Regions from separate parts of the Homo sapiens genome. Here all the other regions are linked to region 2. Evidence: promoter capture Hi-C in human tissues and cell types (Jung and others, 2019). All regions are on one chromosome and are shown on one strand. Each heading gives the region's core, a stretch centred on a gene start or on the middle of the fragment in contact. The rest is flanking DNA. Distances are from core to core; before and after follow the strand shown.

Region 1 (2,700 bases), core at 23-2,522, 840 kb before region 2:
CAAGTGGAAGAATGTTGTGAATATAGAAGTGAATGGGAGTGTGTCTAAAAGATCATATAATTTGGTATGTAAAACTGAAAAAGTAAGTAATTACAGCAGTGAACTAGGAGCTACCATGGAAGTGTTTCTAAGGCAGACAATGAGAAGATGAGAAATGATCAGTTTTTTTTTTTTTTTGAGTTGGAGTCTCGCTTTGTCGCCCAGGCTGGAGTGCAGTGGCATGATCTTGGTTCACTGTAAACTCCGCCTCCCAGATTCAAGTGATTTTCCTGCCTCAGCCTCCTGAGTAGCTGGGATTACAGGTGCCCGCCACCATGCCCAGCTAATTTTTGTATTTTTAGTAGAGATGGGGTTTCACCACATTGGTCAGGCTGGTCTCGAACTCTTGACTTCGTGATCTGCCCTCCTTGGCCTCCCAAAGTGCTGAGATTACAGGCGTAAGCCACCGCACCCGGCCGAGAAATGATCAGTTTTAATAGTGAAATTATGGAAGGCTTTTTAGCTTTTGCCACCTATTTGTTGCTCTTCCTTGTGTTCCAATTGGAAAGGATGAAGGGAGAGAATTAATTAGGTGGTTGAATTGGCAGAATTTAGTGACCATATGACTATTCTTATTTCATAATGTTTAATTTATCTTTGTGAAGCAAAACTGAAGTGTTATCATTTACTGAGTGCCAAGTGTTGGGCTAGGTACTTGACATACGTTTATTCTAATCCTCACAACCATTTTTATAGTTCATCAGTATTATCTGCATTTTACAGGTAAGAAATACAAAGTTTGGGTAATTTTAGTAATGTACCTAATGCCAGAATCCGCTAAGGACATGATCTCCAAGTGCATCCAAAATAGACACCAAGGCTGGGTGCAATGGCTTACACATGTAATCCCAGCACTTTTTGGGAGGCTGAGGTGAGAGGATTGCTTCAGCCCAGGAGTTCAAGACCAGCCTGGGTGACACAGTGAGACCCAGTCTCTAGAAAAAGTAAAATAAAATTAGCCAGGTGTAGTGGCACACCTTGTGGTCCCGGCTACTAGGGAGGCTGAGGTGGGAGGATTGTCTGAGGCTCGGAAATTGTGCTGTTGCACTCCAGCCTGGGTGGCAGAGTGAGGCTACTGTCTCAAAAATAAATAAACAGAATAGACACCAAGTTGCGTTTTAAAATTTTGTAGACCGTAACCTAATAAATGGCTGAATAGAGTTATTGTCAAAATGCTTGTTATTTACAGAGTTTATTTGCATGATTTGGATCACCAATAAGAAGTCCCAATCTTAATTACCAATTTGGCAGGAAAATATATCTTTGTCTCTTCTATTGCTTTCTTCAGCATAATGTAAAGTCAACTATTTACAGGTTGATTTTAAAAATATGAGTTGGGTTGCTTCACAATCTAGTTATTTTTAGTATTGCTAATATTTTGTGTTCGTATGGTGTCATTGGGGAGTCTACTTATTTCCCATAATACTTCTGTAATGGAGTAGGGCTGACAGTGTCTTTTTTTATGGATAAGGAAACAGTAACAGTGGCTTTACTAGAATCCACTCTTATTATGTAACAGAACTAGATTTTTGTGTTGGCTATTATAACTTTAAGATGGTCAAAGTTCTGAAATAAAATGTTTTGTTACTTCAGTAAACCTTGGAAAATTTATATTATCTTTTAACACATAAACTTTGATACTTAACTTAGCAAAGCAGTGCAGTGGCAAATGGGACAAGAAAGAACATGAGCCCAGGGAGTTATTTGTAAATGCAAATATACATTTGCATTTACATTTACAATTTACAAATATACATTTGCATTTACAAATGCACATTTGCATTTACAAATACATCTTAATGTACTTATAAGTTAAGTACATTATTAGAGTACTAAGTTAAGTACATATGTGTAAGTACATATTAGAGTACTAAGATTTATTTCCATGATAAAGAGGAGGTGTTTAAATCAAAGTGAACATCTGTAAATCTAAATATGCCATATGTACTTTAGCTCTGGATAGAATTTAAGATCTAACTGAAAGGAATTAAGTACTTGAAAAATGACTTATTTTGAATAACTAATGTGATACTTGCCCTTAGACTGGATCCTGGACTGCAGGACAGGAAAAAGGGATAATAGGTAAATATTATGGACAATTTTAGTCAATAAATTTGACAGTTAGGATGAAATGGACAAATGGATAAATTCCTTAAAAACTACGAAAGCTTACTTAAGAAGTAATAGATAACCTGAATATCTATATGTGTTTATCTGTATCTATATATGTGAAGACATTGGATATATGGTTGAAAACCTTGTCACAAAGAAAACCCCAAGCCAGTGGTTTCATTGGTGAATTTTGTTATTCGATAAAGGAAGAAATAATACAAATTTTACACAAACTCTTCCAAAAAGTACAAGAAGGAACAGCATTTCCCAACTCATTGTCTGATACCAAAACCACAGAAAGATATAAGAAAAGAAAATTATAGTCTTATATCTTTCATAAACTTTGCTGCAAAAAATGGTAAAATTTTAACTAAGACCAACAATATGTAGAAAGGATAATACTTAATGACTAAGTGGGGTTTATTCTGGGAATGTAAGATGCGTTTAACATTTGAAATTTAATCAATATTAATTCACCACATTAACAGGCCAAAATATTAATTCACCACATTAACAGGCCAGAAAAATCAGATGATCATAATTATCTCA
Region 2 (2,700 bases), core at 58-2,557:
CAAACAAAACAAAACAAGGCTCTGACGCTGCCTCCGGGCTGCCTTCCAGATTTCAGCCCCCACTGCTGCCCCAGAGGCGGATAGCTAGGCAAAGGCTGCTGCAGTCTCTCCGATTGCTAAGGACACGTTGAGAGTCCTCGGTAACGTTCTCTTTGCAAATCTGAAACTTTAGCCCCATTTGACCCCCTTGCCCCCGGCTCTTCCCCCAGAGTAACTACAACAAGCAAAAACCAAACAGCGAGCGCAATTCAGAGCTTTCCTTGGGAGTGTCAGGGCCCGAGGACAGGAAATCCGGGGAGTTGGCGAAGTCCGGCAGGTGGCGGGGACTCGAGTACCCACCACATTCTCCTCCCACAGCCGAGCTCCGGCGGGGGCGCGGCGCGAGGCACGGACCAGGGATCGGCCCCGTAGGTGCCTGCGCCTCCCCGGAGCCTGGCTCTCTGGTCCCCTTCCCGGCGCACATCTCTGTGCGAGGGACGCGGCCACCCTGTCCCCTCTGCAGGCGGAGGGAGGCGCCACCGCCTGCGGGGCCAGCGAGGGTGAAGCCGTGCCAAGCGCCCCCACAAGCCGCGCTCCTGGATCCCCAGTCACCATCCCCAGGCGCGCGCAGTCCCCGCTCCCAGCGCGCCACGTCCTCCACCTGCCCCGGTGCGCCCCAGCTTCCCTGCTTCCAGAGAGCAGCTCCCCCAGTCCCGGCAGCCCATTTCCAACCCCTTCTCCCACTAAGTCCGAGGAAGTCGAACTCGGAGCGGCCGGTAGGCTCGTCGAGGTGGCAGGGAGTTGCTGGGAGAGCACAGCGCGGAGAGGGACCGCGCACGCCGCCCGGGGATTTCGCCCCAGAGGGCTGGCTCCGCGCGCCCGGAGTCCCAAGCCCCAGAAGCGGGGCCCGACCCGAGCCCTCTGCGTTACCTGGCACCGCCGGCGACTCTCCGGAGACCTTCGGTCCTAACTGCTCCAGGGCGGGCGTTCTGCTCACGTAGCTGCCTCCCCCACTGGGCGGCTGGTGCCCCGCTGGGTCTCTTCACCCCTGCTCGCGGCGCTGTCCCCGCCCCCCACCCCCCTACCCCCTCTGTCAGAAGTGTCACAGCTTTTCTGCCTTCGGATGTTTCGCAAAGTCTCCGTGCGGTTGCCAGGAGTTGGGGGGTACTGCCAAGTGCACCAACCCCGCCGATGCCCTGCCCTGCCCTCCCGCGGCCACCGCGTTCGGCCTGTCCAGTGAGAAGAGCCCCCTGGTCGCGGTCACCGTCCCCCGAGCGTGGCGCGCGGTCCGCTTCCCCTCCCTCGCGCCTTCCCTAGCAGGAGTGGCTGCTGCCTGCCTGTACCGCGGGTCCTCATTCCCCTGCTCATGAATATTCTGACAGAGGCTAATGCCGCTGAAGTAAATTGAATTAGCCAATTGGTGCCAGGAATGTGCGCTCCTTCCTTCTGAGGAGCTGTCTGGAACCCCACCAGATGAAAGCAATTAACGTCCGGTTGGCACCCTGTGGTTTAGACCAGTGAGGGGCAAAATGGGTTAATTCTTTAAATGCAGTTTAGATACCGCATTTAAATGTTTCAACTCCTCTATTGGCTGAGAGCGTAAGGAAATGTTAAGAGGGAGAGAGAAGAAAGGGGATGTGTGGACGTGGGGAGGGGGGCGGGGGTATTTACATCTAAACTTTCCCCTGAAGTTGAGGTAATTATTTTGCACAGATTCTGGAAGAGGCAATTGAGGAGTAGAACAGGATAAGGCAAATAAAATCAGAAAGGAAATGAGTACCAACTCGGGTTTAACCTTGACCTTGAGGGTGCAAAAGACATTGTTTTCAAGAGGAGAGGTAGGGGAAGATGGCATGTGTGAGGGAAACCTCACTCATCGACTTTTAAGAATTTCTTCAAATGCTCAGATTTCCTTTTCTTTTTGTCCTCATAGGAAAATCTTAGAGTTTTAAGCCTTTAACTAGAGATGGGGTGGAGGTATATTAAGGGTCAGAAATTTCTGAGGTGGAAGCTGAGACCACCCTTCTCTCCCAGATGAAGGGGGTCCCCCAAATCACACAATACTGTGACAGGCCCATTCCAGAAGGCAATTCCAGCTCTTATTTCTGAGGTCAGAATACACAAGGTCAAAAGGAGAGATCACCTCTCTCCTGTCCTGATTCCTACCCTAGAATGTCAAGTTACTGACGACAACTTGGGTTTCACAGTGGCTGGAGGGGGACTTTTTGCCCGATGTGGTTTCTACATTTCTCTTCAAGCAAGGTGCTTGGAGGATTTCCTCCCCCATCACTGATTGTAATAGAGCAAGTTATTTTGATTGAATTGATAGGTTACTAAATAATCTATTTGTACAACTGCTCTGTGGCCAAATGATCAATGTGTGTAAAGAACTGATAAAATGATATATATAAACATCCAATAAGATTCCCAAGTGTGTGACAATAGAAATAGTATCCCAGTTAAGGCAGTCATGCCATATTTTAATAGCTTTCAGCAGGCCTAGAATTAGAACTCATAGTTATAACAATGATTATTAATAGCAGAATAGCTAATGTTTATGGAGAACTTGTTATGTGACAGACATGTGTTACACATGTTATTTCATTTCATTTTTCCAACAACTCTATTCAGTCTAGACTATTATTTCTCTATTTTAATAGATGATGCAGATGTGGCTCAATAAAGTAAGGGCAGTTGACCCTTGAACAACATGGGGGTTAG
Region 3 (2,700 bases), core at 123-2,622, 780 kb before region 2:
CTTCTTAGCTTCTTGTCCTCTTGTTCTATACAAATGAGTGTCAGACTTACCTTTTTTTTTTTTCACCTCTTTTCTCATCAAGACTTGGCCTTTCTTTCTTTACCTGAGTTCTCTGAATAATATAGTATAATATAATATTTCTTTCTTATAAAAGCTCTTTCTCTCACTCTTCTTAAGATTTCACCTCAGAATATGTGTTAGTTTAAAATTCCAGATGCACTTTTAAAATGTCTTTCTTAAAAAATCCACAATGAAAATGTATATTATTTTCTTATTTTTCTTCCTTTTTAGGTCCTCAAGTTCTGGCTGCATTGGCAGCTAAAAACTTTAATTTTTATCTCTCCAGTCTTCCAAGATTGCCAAAGACTCTTGGATTCTCTACTTCCTGGCAGCAGCTATATCCCCAAATTCTCAGCCTCTTGCTTTGTGCCAAGAATAACAATGGTAGATTCCCTCAGAGTTACAGTTTGTAGAATTTTGGATTACTTCCCTGTGGTTTCCTTCTCTCTAGGATCTTAGCCTTTCATTACTTGATTGTTTTGGTACCTTCAAATTTATTTTATTGGGCTTTCTAGTTGTTCTTGGTGGGAGCATTGCTATGCCCAAAGCTTCTCTGGCATAACCAGAAGTTATGGTTAAATCTTAGTGTTTTAGTCATTTTATTTAAAAGTGTTAATGAACAAGTAATGCATGCACACAATAAAATTTATACAAACAATAATAAAAAGTCACTTTTCCTCCTGTATTCCAGTCTTATAGTCTTTTTCTTTGGAGGCAAAGTTGCAGTTTATTATGTATCTATCTATCTATATCATGTATACATATATACAGGAATATAATCTAAATAATATCCAATAATATCCAAAAGAAAGGAAATCAATATATTGAAGAGATAATCTGCACTCCTATGTTTATTGCAGTACTACTTGCAGTAGCTAAAATATGGAATCAATCCAAGTGCCCATCAGTGGATTAAGGGATAAAGAAAATATGGTATATATACATGATGCGTCTTGTATATTGCAATATTATTCATTCATAAAAAAGAATGAAATCCTGTCATTTGCAGCAACATGGGTGGAACTGGAGATCATTATGTTAAGTGAAATAAGGCCGCCACAGAAAGACGAATTTTACATGTTCTCACTCATATGTGGGAGCTAAAAAAAATAGCTTTGATGACGTAGACAAGAATTGACAGAATAGAATTGATGAAGTAGACAAGAATACATATGTATACATGATATATGTATATCCTTCTTGTTATATTTCAAGTTCTATTTATAAAATATTTCAAACATGCTGAAAAGAATAGAGGATATAATAAAAATTGTTGTACCCACAACTCAGGTTTAAGAAAATGTTAACATTTTACCATATTTAGATTCTTTTTAGAGGGGGGGGCTGAGGAATAAAATGGTGTAATACACTTCAATCCCTATTTTAAAAATCTATTTTATTTAACAGTTCTTTTTTCTATTTAGTTTGGTTTTCAGGATTTATCCATGTTTATATGTATAGATCTCCCTTGTTCATTTTAGTTCACATATGGCATTCCTTTAATTACTCCTCTGCCAACCCCCATTTATTTTGTTGTTATTTGGTTTTGTTTACATAAATCTGAACATATTTTACTCTATATTCTAGACTTTATATTTCTTACAAAACCTCTTTATGTTTAAAGTATGTGATACCAAGAAAATTTACTTTATATCCCCTCTCAATTTGATGGAAAACTAAAAATAAAACGTATATTTGGGGACAAGTGTATGAGAGTCTTTAATGTCATGGTGATACATTGAGGCTTGTATAGAACATTTGGTGAATTCCAGATATATTGCAAATCTTTGATATGTCTACCTTTGGCATGTCCCAAGTTTTATAAATAGTGCATTTAGGAAAAATTACAAATTACCCTGACTCCTGTTTCTTTACCTTAATACTTCCAATATAATATAACATAACATAATATATAATGTAAATATTTCTCCTTAAGAATTTTTTTCTCTTATTCTTCATAAGACTTCACTTAACAGAATGTCTGTTAAATTAGCTTAAGTAATTTAGCTTCAGACAAGCTTTTTTTCCTTTCTTTTTATTTTAAATTTTAGGTACATTACAAATGGCAACGTATGGTAGTCTCTTATTTTTCTTCCTTTTTTAGGTCTGCAATATTTTGATAGCATTGTATTCAAAATTTATTGATTCATTTTATGTGCTTTAGCACTTTGCTAAGTATTATTGTGGATATTAATGGAATATAAGACATTATCTTGGCCCACATGGAGGCTAAAATTTAATTGAAGAGAAATAAACTGATCATTAGACCACTAACTGAAGTGCTAATGATGTGAAGTGAGATTTGGAGTAGACCATAAAGGATGATGAATATTTGATTTTAGAAAGCAAAGAGGGGAACATCTTTATGATACCAGCTAGGTGAAGCTTGAAGAGTTTCACCATTATGCAGCTGAGGGTACACATTTGCGATAATGGGAAATTAAGTGAAGTAGCAGCAGAGGGTCATCAATAGTCCAGGAAGATTAGAATTGATGAAGTAGACAGTGAGATGCCCATATCAATTGTAAGTGAGAGGATGCAATCAGTATTTTAGGAAGCTGAGTGGATCAGAGCAAGAGGAAGGAGGTCAACTAGAAAGCTTTTATGGAAATTTGGGAAATTCAACTTAGATATAGCCTT
Region 4 (2,700 bases), core at 45-2,544, 680 kb after region 2:
TTGGGTACCTCTTATTTCTCAATTAATATATCTATCTTTGCATCTTTGTCAAAAATTAATTTACTATACTTGCGTAGGTTTATTTCTAGACTATATTCTTCTCTAGTGATCTAAGTGCCTATCCTTTTGAAAGTATCCTTTTGCTTGATTAGTGTAGCTTTATGGGAAGTCTTGCAATGGGATACCATGAATTCAGTCAAAGCACTTTCAATTGGCAGTAATTATACAGTTCAGAGAAGTCTGGAGTACTCAGGGTATAGAATTGATAGTATGGACCAAAAAGTCTGAAATAAAGTTAGGTCATGTGATAAAAAAGGGCAGAAACAAACCTCTTCTGGGCCAGAGGATGGGCTGTAAAAGGGATTGAAAATGAGTAAAGCTCAGACACAGAAGAATCACCCAATACCTTATCCATTCCTCCATCACAAACTAGGATAAAACTGAAGGCAGAATGGCGAATGGAGAGAACAGAAAAGTCCCAACTGGCCTAGGGGAGGGCCCAAAAACCAAAGCTGTTGTGTATTTTGTTATGTTTTAAATCTTGGTTTTAAAACCAGCACCCCTAGTGTGGTGCGGGGAAAGCAGCTGAGACTTCCAAAGAGGTCTGTGGAAGTGCTGAATGACACAAGGACACATCATGAGGGGTTCTTCAGTAATAGGAGGCACATCCAAGTGAAGGCATTCACATTACCTGCCAATACAAAACAGAGGGGTTCAGGTTATGCAGAAAGAGCAGAGCCTGAATTATTTGCTTTCTACTGCCCCCCATAGCAGTGTTATTAAATATTATTTCTACCTCTAATGAGATTACCCTCAGAATAAATATGAAAAGAAGAACGAAAATGGATGTAGAATCCTAGGATAATTAGTTTTTACTTGGAAGAGGCAAAAATACTTTAAATTTTCAAGCTTACATTATTTGCTAATGTAAAAAATAAGATACCAAAGAAAGTTAAAATATAAGAAGGTTAAACAAATTACATCGTGCAACACAAATTTCTGACTATGAAATTTCATACTTAATAAAATATTATGTCTGGATAATCTATGATAATTGATAATAGGAAAGGAGATGGCAGTGGTTAACATGGAATATCTCCTTTTTTTTTTTTTTTTTGAGACAAGTTACCTCTGTCACCCAGGCTGGAGTTCTGTGGTGTAATCAAAGCTCATTGTAAACTCAAATTTCTGGGCTCAAGTAATCCTTCTGTCTCAGTGTCTCCAGTGGCTGAGGGCTGAGACTTTTTTTGTTTTTTTAACTATTATTACTTTTTGTGGAGACAGGATATCATTATGTTGCTCAGGTTGGTCTCAAACTCCTGGCCTCAAGCAGTCCTCCTGCCTCAGCCTCCCAAAGCACAATATGTCCATGTTTATGGTCATGGTATGCATGGACAAAGCAGCTCTGTGTTGGGTAAGATATGGTTCTGCTTGGAAGTAGAAATTCTGATAATTTGAGGTTACAGAAATTATAAATTATGGCCATGATGAGGTCTTTATGATGGTTCTTATTTCTCTATTGGTGTCAGATCACCTGAAAATAAGATTTTCTTCCTTCCATTTTGTAAAGGAGTAAAGAAAACACCATCAAAGTTGCATTTCTGCTTAATTTCATCAAGCATTTGGCAAATTAAATACAATTCATATTCTATTTTTCAACTCATTTAGAATTATTTATACAATTATGTAGCATGCATATGAGTGACAATTCAGGCAATGAATGAAGGGCTATAAGAACACATAGGCATCCCTCTTAACAGAGAAGGAGACTTTATGTAGGTTACCCAGTGTTCAGTTGTCACGGTGGTTGGAGGCAGGAGGAGTTTGCATTGGCTTAGGTAGTGACTATTTTGGAGACCCTCTTGGACTCCAGACCTGCTGAATTCTAGTTAGTGTTCCCAATCCTGCCTCTGCAATGGCAGTCTTTGCAAAAACATCAAGCATGGCAAAGCCCTGGAGAACCCATGTCAGTAGATCCTGCACTGATCCCAGCAGCTCAGTCACTTAAAATCTTCACAGATTATTTTATTTGAGCCAAGACTGGAAAGGATTATGCCAAATTCTGGGATGTGTCAGCAAACTTTAATTAAAGAGATGGGTTGTAATGGGAGCTAAAGAAAGCACAAACTGAAACTTGTCTTGACATCTATGTATATGCTATATCCTATTATCTGCTTAAGAACCTTCTATTGTTCCCAACATTCCATAAATAAAAATGTTCAGTCTTCTCTAGTTCTTGAAAAATTTTTAAAAAGGCCATTAGATAAATTCAGATTAAAGCCACAACGGGATACCACCTTACATGTATTAGAAGAACTGAAATAAAAAGGACTAAAAATTCCAAGTGTCAGAAAAGATATAAAGCAATGTGAACACTCATGCTTTGCTGTGGGAATTTAAAATTGTACAGCCACTGTAAAATGGTTTGGCAATTTTTTATAAAGTTAAACATGTATTTATTATATGACCCAGGAAACCCACTTCTTAATTACCCTATAAAAGGTAACATTTTTGTTAATAGGAAATCTGTATGCTAGTGTTCATATATAGGCATGGTAAAGTGCTTTTTTATTTGTTTTGTCATTTTTACATACTTTTAAGTACTTGATCTTTTTTCTGTACTGCCATTTTAGCTAAGTACAAAATTGGACTTTCTTTCATAAGAAAATTTAAAAAAAATTTTTTTCTTAAATAACAGTT

What was found. The method cuts DNA at HindIII sites, captures the fragments that hold promoters and counts their contacts. A contact is called where the count stands out against the background at its distance.
Region 1: a fragment that was not itself captured here is called in contact with the fragment with the promoter of CDH20 in region 2 in 2 of the 25 tissues and cell types used here (bladder and mesenchymal stem cells).
Region 3: a fragment that was not itself captured here is called in contact with the fragment with the promoter of CDH20 in region 2 in 2 of the 25 tissues and cell types used here (hippocampus and mesendoderm cells).
Region 4: a fragment that was not itself captured here is called in contact with the fragment with the promoter of CDH20 in region 2 in 1 of the 25 tissues and cell types used here (aorta).

Annotation. Positions count from the first base shown.
Region 1 is chr18:62,171,691-62,174,390 of GRCh38, reverse strand. All of the region lies in intron 1 of PIGN (phosphatidylinositol glycan anchor biosynthesis class N), which reads left to right. Among named protein-coding and RNA genes, the nearest start is that of PIGN, 14 kb to the left of the region's middle. The HindIII fragment of the contact is 3,342 bases long and covers 1-2,700 here.
Region 2 is chr18:61,332,037-61,334,736 of GRCh38, reverse strand. It overlaps CDH20 (cadherin 20), which reads right to left and starts at 1,307. Exons shown (of 12, transcript NM_031891.4): 1 at 910-1,307. The HindIII fragment of the contact is 19,388 bases long and covers 1-2,700 here.
Region 3 is chr18:62,116,249-62,118,948 of GRCh38, reverse strand. All of the region lies in intron 14 of PIGN (phosphatidylinositol glycan anchor biosynthesis class N), which reads left to right. Among named protein-coding and RNA genes, the nearest start is that of PIGN, 69 kb to the left of the region's middle. RefSeq lists an enhancer at 1,019-1,188. The HindIII fragment of the contact is 3,092 bases long and covers 1-2,700 here.
Region 4 is chr18:60,652,421-60,655,120 of GRCh38, reverse strand. No RefSeq gene overlaps it. Among named protein-coding and RNA genes, the nearest start is that of MC4R, 280 kb to the right of the region's middle. The HindIII fragment of the contact is 6,274 bases long and covers 1-2,700 here.